Linked DNA regions of Homo sapiens: region 2 is linked to region 1. Evidence: promoter capture Hi-C in 16 types of primary human blood cells and fetal thymus (Javierre and others, 2016). All regions are on one chromosome and are shown on one strand. The core of a region is centred on a gene start or on the middle of the fragment in contact, and the rest is flanking DNA. Distances in the headings are between cores, read along the strand shown. Region 1 holds the start of XPNPEP2 (X-prolyl aminopeptidase 2). Region 2 has its middle 5.5 kb from the start of ZDHHC9.

Evidence for each region. The method cuts DNA at HindIII sites, captures the fragments that hold promoters and counts their contacts. A CHiCAGO score of 5 or more calls a contact.
Region 2: a fragment that was not itself captured here is called in contact with the fragment with the promoter of XPNPEP2 in region 1 in 6 of 17 cell types (activated CD4 T cells, neutrophils, total B cells and 3 more); the score reaches 9.3 in activated CD4 T cells.

What each region holds. Positions count from the first base shown.
Region 1 is chrX:129,734,274-129,741,393 of GRCh38, forward strand. It overlaps XPNPEP2 (X-prolyl aminopeptidase 2), which reads left to right and starts at 4,706. Exons shown (of 21, transcript NM_003399.6): 1 at 4,706-4,989. The coding sequence starts at 4,941. RefSeq lists an enhancer at 3,936-3,985. The HindIII fragment of the contact is 11,300 bases long and covers 196-7,120 here.
Region 2 is chrX:129,845,863-129,852,982 of GRCh38, forward strand. No RefSeq gene overlaps it. Among named protein-coding and RNA genes, the nearest start is that of ZDHHC9, 5.5 kb to the left of the region's middle. RefSeq lists enhancers at 3,645-4,460, 4,461-5,274. The HindIII fragment of the contact is 5,396 bases long and covers 1,026-6,421 here.

The sequences.
Region 1 (7,120 bases), core at 3,456-5,955:
GAATCGCTTGAACCAGGGAGGCAGAGGTTGCAGTGAGCCAAGATCACGCCATTGCACTCCAGCTTGGGTGACAGAGCGAAACTCCGTCTCAAAAAAAAAAAAAAAGTGTATAGCACCTTCCCTTCACTCTCTCTCTTGCTCCCAGTCCTGCCATATGAGATGCCTGTTCCCTCTTTGCCTTCTTCCATGATTGTAAGCTTCCTAAGGCCTCCCCAAAAGCAGATGCCAGCACTATGCTTCCTGTACAGCCTGAAGAACTGTGAACCAATTAAACCTCTTTTCTTTATAAATTACCCAATCTCAAGTATTTCTTTATAGCAATGCAAAATGGTCTAACACAATCACCAACAGATTTCACAAGAAGAAGGAGGAGCCATGGGCAGCTGTGAGCTGCTGAAAAGGAGCTGACCACTGGATCCACCAACCACAGCGAAGGACGTCCAACCCTCGCCCTGAGGACAGAAACTCCCTTCTCTGATGCCTGGCTGTCTGGGTGAGGTCTTGGGCCTCATAGCACCAAAGATCAAATGCCATGAAATGAGCTCTTTCCCCCTGCTGTGTGACCACACCCTACACACACACACACACACACACACACACACACACACACACACACACAGAGGCAGGGTAGCTTTGTATCAAAGCAGGGCAGATGTGATGGATGAGGCACCCAACAGCACCACAGCAGCCTTCTGGGGCTGGAAAATTGCCCTCCATTCAGAGTATTCCTTTCGGGTTAAGGATGGGGAGGCTAGGCCACACAATGGTGGGGTTTTGCATCAACTCCACAAACTTGTGCTGAGCCCACTCTTTGCTGGGCTCTGTCCTGGATAGGACCTGTTCCAGGTCTAAACATTTATAAAAAGCAAGCTCCTGCCCTTGGGGATGGGTGACCTACGACAGAAGAGTTGTTGAGAAAGAAAAAGGTCAATGTCAGGGTTTGAAAACAGAAGCTCCCATAAAATGTTATGGGAGTCTCCAAGATGAATTTGAGGTGATGAGGGCTTGGTAGACAAGATGAATTTTGAGCTGGACTTTGATGGATGGAGAGAATGTGGACAAGAAGAGATGAATAATGTTAGAGAGGAAGACCTTGGCCACTAAGCTGAAGAGATTGAATTCTGCCCTGAGGGCAGTGGGAGCCATGGAGGATCTTCAGATTGGGGTGACTGTGAGGTCCAAGGGACAGAGCATGGGCTTTTAAGTTCCCCAGACCCAGGTTTGAGTCCCAGCTCTGCCACAGGTCAGCTTGGACCTGGGCAAAGCCACTTTTTTTCTCCAAGCCTGTCTTCTCTTCTGCTTCTGAGAGCCCTGCCTATCTCCCAGCATGAGATGCTGGAACCTGATGGGAGGGTATAACGGGAATTCGGAAGCAGCAATCACATGCTGTGCCCACAAGGCCAAGAGTCCCCAGTCCCTCAGCCTGTGAGGTCACATGAAGAGTTAGATTGGGCATGTGCTAGCTCAAAAGCCTCCTTCCCACCTGCAGAACTGCAGAACCTCAGGTATCATTTCATGATTTCATCCTCAGTAACTTGGGACATCCCCAGGGGATGCTCTGCAGTGCTCATAGCCCCCTTGGGTCTCTGACTTTCCTATTGCCACCGGCTATTCCAGTCCATGGCGCTGTCCACCTGTGCTTCCTCAGGCTGCTTTTCACATTATTGCCGCCAGTCTGCCCCTAGACTGCTGTCCTTCCCTGTGACCACCTCCTGCAATGCCATCTCTGCACCTCTACTGCCAAGATTCACTCCACCTCTCTGATTCCTGGCCTTCCTCCAGGTTCTACCCTTCCCCGGGGCTCCCACAGCAAAGCTGTTTGTATCCCTGGTGCTAGAGTTCCTTGCTTGCTCGTCACTTTATATGCATTTTCTCATTCACACTCATGACATTAGTTGTTATTGTGACCTCAGCTGCGATTCAGGACACCTAGTGGTTGTCACCTGGTGGGAGAACATGTAAGTCAGGAAGGTGTATTCTGATGGAAGTCAAGGAGGCATTGGTGCCCAGAGAGGGCAGGCTCAGGTTGGAAGCCTGGGGTGGCATGAGGGTGCAAAATAAGAGGCACAGACAGGAGGTACTCTAGAGAAGATCACCTCTGATTTCAGAATTTGGCCTTTAGGCTAGCTTTGGACCAAAAAGTAAAACAAGCAGAAGTCCACTGCCTGAGTAGGCCAGAGCGAGACTCCAGTGATGCATGCATCTTCCAAACAACTTTGATGCAAAGACTCGGCCATTCAACCCTCCCCACGTTGAATCATTTCTTTCCACTTCAAGCCTGTTGCCAACTTGGGTTGAAGTCTCTCAACTGATAAGAGTAAAGACAGTGGTTTCGAGATAGGGAGATAAGGAAGGAGCTGATGAAGGCAAGTGAAGTTATCTTTGCCACCAGGGCTAAGGCTGGGACCCAGAGGTATGAAACCAGAGGGCTGAGTATTATGTGGGGACCATCCCTGGGCAGAGTCCGGAAGATGGGGGTGGAATCCCCGTTTAGTTTGTTTGCTTCGGGGGTTGGCCCTTCAGCTCAGCTGATCTTTGCTCTAACAACTGCTATTTCAGCAGTGCTGGATGCCAGGGAGAGAAAGAACAAAGTACAGATGAGACTGGCTTTATTTAGTTCTAGTATGTGAATTAACAAACATTTGTAGAACATTTACTCTTGTCTCTGCGAGGCATGTTCTGAGAGCATCACCAACATTAGCCCATTGAATCCTCATAACAACCCTAAGAAGCTAGTACTATTATTATGCCAACTCACAGGTGAGGACACTGGGGACTCAGGGAGATAAAGTCACTTGCCCAAGATCACACAGCTAGTGGGTGCCAGAGCTGGGATTGAAACTCAGGCTGATTGGCTCCCAAGTCAGTGTTTCAAGGCTCAGTTCACTGACAGAAAGACAGGACCATGTTTGTCCTCAAAGGCTATCTTCAGGGGTCTTCCCCTGCAAAATCCCATCAGCTCTACCTGCTTGCTTGCCCTTCAGGATGGCTACTGCAGCAAACAGAGGAGGCAGGAGTCTTTGAGGGGGCATTTTCCAGTGCTCTGGTCTCTGGGAATAATTTCATTACCAGTCCTGGAAGGGGTGGGAGAGAGGAGCCTGGGGAAAAGGCTGCGGGAGCTTCAGCAGTTATTGAATGACAGCATTCTCATGTTCTCCTTGTCCCTGGTCTGTCCTCTGAGGCTGTGGGCTCCTGCCCTCTGCTTTTATTCCTGAGAATGAAGTTCACTGGGCCACCTCACTCATTTTGACTCTGCCCCTTCAGAGACTCCCATGAAGGTCCGTTTTCCCTCTTCAAAATGGCCTATTTTGTCATTCTTGAATGGATGGTTGAAAGTTGCTTTACACTTGATGTGGACATAAGCAGACTGTAAATCCATTAAAAATAGAAACAAAAGGAATGGTGGCCAGGCATGGTGACACGCACCTGTGGTCTCAGCTACTCAGAAGGCTGAGGCTGGAGAATCACTTGAGCCCGGGAGGCTGAGGTTGCAGTGAACCGAGAACATGCCACTGCACTCCACCCTGGGCAACAGAATAAGACCCTGTTTCAAAAATAAAAATAGAAACAAAAGGAATGGGCAGTTTGCCTCTGGGGCCCTCCAGGCTAGGTGAGCATCCATCCCCATTGGGTCTGTTTGTCTCTCTAAAGCATTCCTCTCTGGGAAATCACCTTCCTCGAACCCAAAGAGCAAGGGTTCTGTAGAGCATTTACTAGGAGCTGCCTTGAAGCTGCCCTCTGATTCAGCTGGGCGTGAAGACAAGGCAGGCCTCAGCTTCTCCATTTCCCTCATTGGGAGTTGTGTTGTTTACGAGTGACTCACACTTCAGGGTAACCAAATCCCTGTTCTAGAAGCTACAGCAGAAACAGCATTTCCAGTTCACCAAATTAGTCTTCTCAGAGCGCCCAAACTCCCCTTTCTGTGTCTTCTTCCCTATTCAGTGGCATCCCCCAAACCCTCCAGATAGGGGCATCTTTGGGCTTTCATTTCCTCCCAGGTGTGAGTGGCTCTAACAGCCTCGGTTCCCCAGAGTGCAGGTTCAGAAAATGCAGGGGAATGGGACTCCCCAGATCCCAAGGGAAGAGCTGGCATCACTTCTTCAGAGTGGGCACTCCTGGGGGGACTCATCCCAGCTCAAGAAAGTAACTCTCCAGTCACAACCAACTTTCCCAAGGGGTACAGTGGGACTTGCCAAGCACTACAAGAAGAGAGGACACTGGCTTTTCCAGTCAGCTTGGAGGAAGAGAGGGAGGAAAAAAGGAGGGGGAGGAAGAGCAAAAAGGAGGAGGAGGAGGAAATGGACAAGGAGGAAAAAAAAAAAAAGGAGGAGGATGAGGAGGGAAAAGGAGGAAGAAGAAGAGGAAGTGGAGGAGCCCAGAAAAGGAGGGGAAGGAGGAAAAAGGAGGAGGAGAAGGAAAACGAGGAGGAAGAAGAGGTGGGGAGGAAAAGGAGCAGCAGCAGGAGGCAAATCTCCATCCCCACAGCAAAAGCAGTGCTGGAGCCAGAGCCCAGAGTGTGGGAGCTAATGGGAATCAGCTTGCTGGAGGGAAGGGGACCGAATTAAGGAATGGCTGGGGCTCTGCCGCTGAGAGGGGGCTGGGAAAAGCAGGCTGATTGAGACCAGCTGTTGTGCCTCTGTCTCTGAGATCTTTGGACTCTGCCCAGGATAGCCTCACACCCTATCCTACACGACTAGGAACTTGCACAGTCCGCCTCGGGCAGCCCAAAGCTCCTCTGCCCACCCTGGCTCCCAGAGCCCTCCAAAACAAAAGACCAGAGAAGCACTCTCCACCCAGCAGCCAGACGCCTCCTTCTTGACGCCAGCCCCCACCCTCTGTCTGCTCGAGCCCAGGAAAGGCCTGAAGGAAGAGGCCGGGGAAAGAGCCCTCCCTCTCTCCCTTGTCCCTCCATCCACCCAGCGCCGGCATCTGGAGACCCTATGGCCCGGGCTCACTGGGGCTGCTGCCCCTGGCTGGTCCTCCTCTGTGGTATGTGCATCCTAGCTTCCACTGGAAGGCAGCTCTGACCTCTCCCCTCTGAGCTCAGAAAGGGTTGGAGTGAGGGTTGGGGCCCGAGTCTCTTTTTCTGTTGCTTCCTCTCTCTGACTTGAGGAAGAGACACCTCAGGGCCAGTGTTGGGGGCCCTCATAACTTGGATCGAGTCTGGTTTGGCACCTTTCCATTCCCCCCGTTATAGAAAAAAAATATTCTGACACTCGTTAAAACGGTAAGGAAAACTTAATTTAAGACTACCGCATTGCAATAGAGGAGAGAAATGGGGCTCAACTCTGATTACAGAAAAGACTTCCAGGGATCTGTAGCCAAGGAGCAGAGTGAGGGGGTCAGTGGATGGAAAAGTATTAAGAGGAGATAGCAAGGGTAGGGGGATTCTTGCTAAACCGACTGAACAGCATTCTTGCTGACGGCAGGCCAGAGTGATCAGATATCAAGGGTGTCTAAACTGACTTAGCAAGATTCTTGCTAAGACTGGGTGATGCAAGCCTGGCAAGGGCAGGACAGACACAGAAGGCCAAGGTCAAGGCCAAGTGGAGAAGAGGCTTTGGGGGAGCCTAACTAAACTTTGGTCAGGAAGAGAGTCTTTCCTCTTTGTCATTCCTGCGGCACCCTCTCTGTCCTCAACTAGGTGCCCAGCCCAGCGCTCCCACCCTAGCCTTCCTTTCTTTGTTGTCTGTCAGCAGGGCCTGATCAGTCACTCAATGTCCAGTTCCTGAGCACCTACCCAGTGCCAGGCCTTGTGCCAGGGACCACAGAGTCATTCAGCTGCAGAGCCTGCTCTTGGGAGCCACAGCCCTGGCCTCAGAGAACAGCATATTCTGGTGTCCAGAGAGACATAAGTTGGCTGTGTCCTCATTCTTATGTTAGCATATCAGTGCCAACATTTTGCCAGGGATCTGTTTCTACAGAAATGGGTGTTTGTTTTCTTAAATGAACAGTATGGGTCGCATCTGATCCTTGAGTTTATGAGACCAAGATAAAATCACACAGGACGTTCATGGTGTTGAACCCCAGCCACCCTCCTTGCATCTGTAGCTCAGCCCACTCGAAAGTGTGGCTGGGCGTGGTGGCTCATGCCTGTAATCCCAGCTCTTTGGGAGGCCATGGCAGGCGGATCACTTGAGGTCAGGAGTTCGAGACCAGCCTGGCCAACATGGTGAAACACTGTCTCTATTAAAATTACAAAAATTAGCCAGGCATGGTGGCGCACGCTTGTAATCCCAGTTCCTCAGGGGGGGCTGAGGCAGGAGAATCGCTTGAACTCAGGAGGCAGAGATTGCAGTGAGCCAAGATTGTGCCACTGCACTCCAGCCTGGGCAAAAGAAGGAGACTCCATCTCAAAAAAAAAAAAAATGCGGGCGCGGGGGGCGTTGGGCGCAGTGGCTCACGCCTGTGATCCCAACACTTTGGGAGGCCGGGGCGGGTGGATCACCTGAGGTCAGGAGTTCGAGACCAGCCTGGCCAATATAGTGAAACCCCCATCTCTACTAAAAATACAAAAATTAGCTGGGTGTGGTGGGTGCATGCCTGTAGTCCCAGCTACTTGGGAGGCTGAGGCAGGAGAATCGCTTGAACCCGGGAGGCGGAGGTTGCAGTGAGCTGAGATCGCCCCACTGCACTCCAGCCTGGGTGACAGAGAGACTCTGTCTCAAAAAAAAAAAAAAGGAGGGGGGGCGGGGGAGTGTAATGTCTCCCCACACTCAGGGCCCCATTACCATCTAGGGAAATCCCTCCCTAAAAGACAGGGGGGTTAGAGGCAAGGACTATCAGAGACCGCTTTGTCTAATTCAAGCCCCTCCTTTCCAGAGGTCCAGAGCCTGGAGAACTTAGTCCAGTGCCTGGCACACAGTAGGCGCTTAGGAGATGGTTGCTCAATGAATATTGGGGGGGGGTCACTCTCGAGTCACTCTAAATTGGGGGCAGAGCCCAAACTAGAAACTAGATCTCCATATATTCTGTCCCTTCTGTGGCATCACCTTTTTCAGGCCCACCTCTCATACTTGGCAGAGTGGGAGGACTGAAAGTGCGCTCACCTCTTTTGTATTAAGATGGCCTGGGTTCAAATCCCTGTTCTACCACTGACTCCTGGTGGCACAAGTTAGAC
Region 2 (7,120 bases), core at 2,474-4,973, 110 kb after region 1:
ACCCCAGCTGCCATCCTTCTGACTATGGAGCAGTGAAAAATAAGCCTCTGTAGCACTCAAACATATTTTGTCCATAGCTCAGGTGCAGGTGAAGCCTGAGGAGTCCTGGAATCGATGTGTCATGGTGACACATTCCTGAGCTCTGTCCCTCCCTGCTCTGGGTCACATTCCCTCTCGGACTAAGTGGCTATGTGAGTCAGGCTTGTTTTATTACAATCTGTTATTATTTATTCTCAACACTCAAAGAAAAATAAGGAAAATTTATGTGGACAAACATCCCATAGTACTTCCTCCTATGTAGTTACATCATTTTATATAATCCTTAAAGTCTTAATACACACACACAACTAAATTGTGACTATAAACTGAGACTGTTTTTTCCTATTCTTTTCTCTTCTCTTTTCAACAGACTTCCCACTTTTTACATCCAAGTCAGTGTTGGCTCTTTTGAAAAGAGGTTATAGGCCGGGCACAGTGGCTCACGTCTGTAATCCCAGCACTATGGGAGGCCAAGGCAGGCAGATCACTTGAGGACAGGAGTTTGAGACCAGCCTGGCCAACATGGTGAAACCCTATCTCTAGCCAGGCATGGTGGCAGGTGCCTGTAATCCCAGCTACTCAGGAGGCTGAGCATGAGAATCACTTGAATCTGGGAGGCGGAGGTTGCAATGAGCCCAGATCGCTCCACTGCACTCCAGCCTGGACGACAGAGCGAGATTCCATCTAAGAGAGAGAGAGAGAGAGAGAGAGGGAGAGAAAGAAAGAAAGAAAGAAAGAGAGAGAAGAAAAGGGGTTATAGTCATGTGATGAGCACTAGAAACACCACAAAAATCAAGGTATAGCCTTCCAGTTTATAAGACAGCTCCTTGTGTTATCATGTATGTTCTGGAGTATTTGTTTAAAAATACCTGTCTCCACATTTATTCTTCATGTGTGTGTGTTTGTGTGTGTGTGTGTGTGTGTGTAGGCGTGTGTAGGTGTAGGTGTAATGTGCTGTTTGATCCTGAGTGCCACCACTGGGTTGAAGCTTTCCTGTTAGTGTTGCTTCAAAGACTCTTCTGTAACCACCCGGAGACCCATTCAGTACTACATCCAGGAGCAGACATAAAGCATCAGCCCCCATCCTGCTTTTGAGCTCATGATAGCTCCTTTATTCTCTATTTTCTGTAGCCTCAAACTTGTCATGTCACTTTGCCCTCCTCCCCACACACACAGCCCTTTCCACCCCACCTCTCTGACTTGCACATCTCTTTCTGCTTTCTGGCTATAAATGCATGTGTGTGTAGAACGAATTGATGAACAAAAGAATGAACCACGGAATGCCCTACCCACGCATGATGAGCTAGTATTCTTAAGCAACATCTGTTTCTCTGAGGCCTGGGCTGCTATCACTGACATAGAAGATCCAGGATGGTAGGTAGCTCAGAAAGCACATAAGCCTTATGGCCAGACAGGCCTCGGTTCAAATCCTGGCTCTGCTACGTAATAGCTTGTATAACCTGTGGCAAGTAATTTATCCTTTCTGAGACTATTTCTTCATCTGTAAAATAAAGCTAATACCTATATCATGGAGTTATAAAGGGAATTGTGTGCTAACTGTCTGGCATGGAAGAGAGACACAGTCAATGCTGTATGTTATAATGACATCTCCATTACTGCCCCCTCCCATCTCCCTCCCTTAGCCATCCTGCTGACTGGGGTAGAGAGGTAGAAAAAATGAGACCCATTCTTCACTGTATAGAGTCCTTGTCATCCATGTACCACCACGTTTTCATAACCTCTAAATTCATCACTGAATTGAATCCTTATCTGACTGGGTTTCCCAGCCCCCTACCCCACCTGGGACTGGGGAAAGCCTGGATAGTAATCTTGTTCTAGTAGAATGGCTGATCCTTAGCCTCCTCTTCTCAAGTAAATCATTGACATTCCTGCCACATTATCTGTTTCAACAGGCAAAAGGTAAATGGGATTGCTTTCACTGAGCACCTCCTATGTTCACAGCCCTGTGCTGAGATTGTTGGCTTCTCTTGGGAACTAAGCAGCACCTTAAAGATGTCCTCGCATGGCCAGGCGCGGTGGCTCACGCTTGTAATCCCAGAACTTTGGGGGGCTGAGGCGGGTGGATCACCTGAGGTCAGCAGTTCAAGACCAGCCTGACCAACACGGCGAAACCCCGACTCTAATAAAAACACAAAAATTGGCTGGGCTTGGTGGCAGGTGCCTATAATCCCAGCTACTTGGGAGGCTGAGGCACAACAATCGCTTCCACCCGGGAGACAAAGGTTGCAGTGGGCTGAGATTGCGCCACTGCACTCCAGCCTGGGCGACAGAGCAAGACTCCGTCTCAAAAACAAACAAAAAAGATACTTTTGCATGAAAGCCAAACATGCAGAAAGCCCCCCAAAAAACAGCCTGGGATGGCCAGGAAAGTGTTCATCACAATGCAAGTGAACTGCCCAAACGCAGGTCTCTGTTTCTGCCTCAGATGCCTGGCTGCTCCCACTGGTTCCCAATTTGACTTCATCTCTGGACTGTGGATTTCTGACTCTGCCTGGGATGGCTTTAGGTCCTATGCTTGAACCCTCAACAGTAGCCCTAAGACAATCCTCTCATTAAAAGAGAATCATAACAGCAATAGAAATCATTTATTGGGGACCTCCTCTGAGCCAGGGATTGTAGTAGGTGCTTTATACATTTAGATTCTCAGATTACGGTCTAAACTTGATGTGCAAGTGACAGCATCTGATACTGACCCGGCACAGCCCTAGTCTCTGACTCTGCCCAGCTCTCTCATTCCAAGAGCTCACCTCAATCACTGTGCAGCCCAAAAATAGAACCAGTTTATCAATCAATCATGAAGTATGTATTAAGCAACAGCCATAGTTTGCTCAGCCTGTACTAGGCAATATGGGAAATACCAAGGAAGTATATGACATGATCCCAGCCTCCAAGGAACTTAAAATATTCTAGGGGCAAAAAGACTAGCACCTATGAAGTCATTAAAGATAAATACAAAACAGTGCAGAGTCAAATTCTCAACTATGCATAGCAGAGTCTCCAACTTCTTAAGGAGATCTTGCCTCAAAGGGTTGTAGCTTCTCGAATACCATTGGTAGAGGAGTAAACTGGTAAAAATCTTTCAGCAGGGCTATTTGGCGGTATCTTTTAACATTTTTGCATTACACAACCACTGACCCAACAATCCTACTTCTATCTAGAAATACTCGCACAAATGTTCAAAGATATATGTTCAAAGATGTTCACTACACACATTGCAATTGTTTGTGAATGTGCATAATTGTGTATGTGTAATTGCAAAAATTAGCAAACAAAAAAGGCCATTAACTATTGGAAATCTACATAGTACAGTACTATGCAACTATTAAAAATAATGGTATATAACATTCATACAGAAAAGAGCAGACCACTGCCTTCCTATATGTGGGAATATTTCAATGGAAATTTTACATTAAAATATTTTCTTGAGGCCGGGCACACTAGCTCACGCCTGTAATCCCAGCACTTTGGGAGGCCGAGGCGCGTGGATTGCTTGGGGCCGGGAGTTTGAGACCAGCCTGGCCAACATGGTGAAACCCCGTCTCTACTAAAAATACAAAAATTAGCCAGGTGTGGTGGTGCGCACCTGTAGTCCCAGCTACTCGGGAGGCTGAGGCAGGGGAATCACTTGAATCTAGGAGGCGGAGGTTGCAGTGAGCCGAGATTGCGCCACTGCACTCCAGCCTGGTGACAGAGTGAGACTCCGTCTCAGAAAAAATAAAAAATAAAAAAAAATTTTTAAAAAAGCAGCTCTGGCTCTCCCTCTCCCTCTCCCTCTCCCCCCTCTCCCTCTCCCTCTCCCCCCTCTCCCTCTCCCTCTCCCCCCTCTCTCTCTCCCTCTCCCTCCTCTCCCTCTCCCTCTCCCCACGGTCTCCCTCTCCCTCTCTTTCCACCGTCTCCCACTGATGCCGAGCCAAAGCTGGACTGTACTGCTGCCATCTCGGCGCACTGCAGCCTCCCTGCCTGATTCTCCTGCCTCAGCCTGCCGAGTGCCTGCGATTGCAGGCGCGCGCCACCACGCCTGACTGGTTTTCGTATTTTTTTGGTGGAGACGGGGTTTCGCTGTGTTGGCCGGGCTGGTCTCCAGCTCCTAACCGCGAGTGATCCGCCAGCCTCGGCCTCCCGAGGTGCTGGGATTGCAGACGGAGTCTGGTTCACTCAGTGCTCAATGGTGCCCAGGCTGGAGTGCAGTGGCATGATCTCGGCTCGCTACAACCTCCACCTCCCAGCCGCCTGCCTTGGCCTCCCAAAGTGCCGAGATTGCAGCCTCTGCCCGGCCGCCACCCCGTCTGGGAAGTGAGGAGCGTCTCTGCCTGGACGCCCATCGTCTGGGACGTGAGGAGCCCCTCTGCCTGGCTACCCAGTCTGGAAAGTGAGGAGCGTCTCTGCCCGGCCGCCATCCCATCCAGGAAGTGAGGAGCGCCTCTCCCCGGCCGCCATCCCATCTAGGAAGTGAGGAGCGTCTCTGCCTGGCTGCCCATCGTCTGAGATGTGGGGAGCGCCTCTGCCCCGCCGCCCCGTCTGGGATGTGAGGAGCGCCTCTACCCAGCCGCAACCCTGTCTGGGAGGTGAGGAGCGTCTCTGCCCAGCCGCCCCGTCTGAGAAGTGAGGAGACCCTCCGCCTGGCAACGGCCCCATATGAGAAGTGAGGAGCCCCTCCGCCCGGCAGCCACCCCATCTGGGAAGTGAGGAGCGTCTCTGCCCGGCAGCCACCCCATCCGGGAGGGAGGTGGGGGTCAGCCCCCGCCAGGCCAGCCGCCCCGTCCGGGAGGGAGGTGGGGAGGGTCAGCCCCCCGCCCGGCCAGCCGCCCCATCCGGGAGGTGAGGGGCGCCTCTGCCCGGCTGCCCCTACTGGGAAGTGAGGAGCCCCTCTGCCCGGCCAGCCGCCCCGTCTGGGAAGGAGGTGGGGGGGTCAGCCCCCCGCCCGGCCAGCCGCCCCATCCGGGAGGGAGGTGGGGGTGTGAGCCCCCCGCCCGGCCAGCAGCCCCGTCCGGGAGGGAGGTGGGGGAGTCAGCCCCCTGCCCGGCCAGCCGCCCCGTCCGGGAGGTGAGGGGCGCCTCTGCCCAGCCGCCCCTACTGGGAAGTGAGCAGCCCCTCTGCCCGGCCAGCCGCCCCGTCCAGGAGGGAGATGGGGGGGTCAGCCCCCCGCCCGGCCAGCCGCCCCGTCCGGGAGGGAGGTGGGGGGTTCAGCCCCCCCGCCCGGCCAGCCGCCCCGTCCGGGAGGGAGGTGGGGGGGTCAGCCCCCCGCCCGGCCAGCCGCCCTGTCCGGGAGGGAGGTGGGGGGTTCAGCCCCCCCGCCCGGCCAGCCGCCCCTTCCGGGAGGGAGGTGGGGGTGTGAGCCCCCCGCCCGGCCAGCCGCCCCGTCCGGGAGGGAGGTGGGGGGGGTCAGCCCCCCACCCGGCCAGCCGCCCCGCCCGGGAGGGAGGTGGGGGGGTCAGCCCCCCACCCGGCCAGCCGCCCGGTCTGGGAGGTGAGGGGCGCCTCTGCCCGGCCGCCCCTACTGGGAAGTGAGGAGCCCCTCTGCCCAGCCACCACCCCGTCTGGGAGGTGTACCCAACAGCTCATTGAGAACGGGCCATGATGACAGTGGCGGTTTTGTGGAATAGAAAGGAGGTAAAGGCGGGGAAAGGATTGAGAAATCGGATGGTTGCCATGTCTGTGTAGAAAGAGGTAGACACGGGAGACTTTTCATTTTGTTCTGTACTAAGAAAAATTCTTCTGCCTTGTGATCCTGTTGATCGGTGACCTTACCCCCAACCCTGTGCTCTCTGAAACATGTGCTGTGTCCACTCAGGGTTAAATGGATTAAGGGTGGTGCAAGATGTGCTTTGTTAAACAGATGCTTGAAGGCAGCATGCTCGTTAAGAGTCATCACCACTCCCTAATCTCAAGTACCCAGGGACACAAACACTGCGGAAGGCCGCAGGGTCCTCTGCATAGGAAAACCAGAGACCTTTGTTCACTTGTTTATCTGCTGACCCTCCCTCCACTATTGTCCTATGACCCTGCCAAATCCCCCTCTGTGAGAAACACCCAAGAATGATCAATAAAAATAAATAAATAAATAAATAAATAAATAAATAAATAAATAAAAGAAAAAAAGAAAAAAAAAAGAAGCTCTGGATGCATATAGGCAGGAGCAGAAAGGCAAGAAGGGGGCCTCAGAGCAAAAGAAGAAGGACAAAGACAAAAAAACAGACTCGGAAGAGCAAGACAAGAGCAGAGATGAGAACAATGATGAAGATGAAGAAAGGCTGGAAGAAGAACAGAACGAAGAGGAAGAAGTAGACAACTGAATAGGGCAGGAGACTGTGGCATCTTGGAAGGTACCACTTGAGATGAGATGTGCTACATGTTTCTGTGAAGCTTTTTCATGCTGGGCAGAGTAGTCTCAGGCAGAAGTGCCTGAAAAGATCAGAATAAAAACTGACTAGAAATACCATCAAAACCAGCACTTCCTAAACTCAAAGCATCTGAGTAGCAGAATCCTGTTTTACTTCATCAACCTCAAGGTTATGACTTTTTGGCAAAAGGGATTCTGAACGGCTAAATTAGTCAGTTTGATCACTTTTGGTTACTTATTTGTATGGTTAGGTGGTTTTTGATCCGCAGTCTTTCCTATTCCCCCAAATAAGTAATAATAACTTCCATGCTGCCTGATGTGTTCCAGATCACAGAGGCAGCCAAAGCTCAGGAAAATTGGGGCTTTGCTTATGGTCAGCCTATGTTTGATTGCACAGTCTTTGACAATAGTAGCTTACTAAGACTGGTCAGAATGAGTAAGCTTTAGGAAACTACTAAAATGCTGTGGGATAATAACAAAATCTGTTCTGTCTCTTCACTTGACAGAAGCGTTAACTGAATTTTGTTTTTCATAGACCCACTTGGCTCAAAACCTTTCTAAATTGCCTGTAGATAATTCGACCTGCTGGGGTGGGGGTAATCTGGTCACAAATGTTCTTAAATCAGCAGTTTAAAATGGTATTCGTCAAGCAAGGGTGCCAGTGTCTTACTTTTACAAAAACAGATGGCATAGTGTCACATGTATCTTACTCTCTGCTAC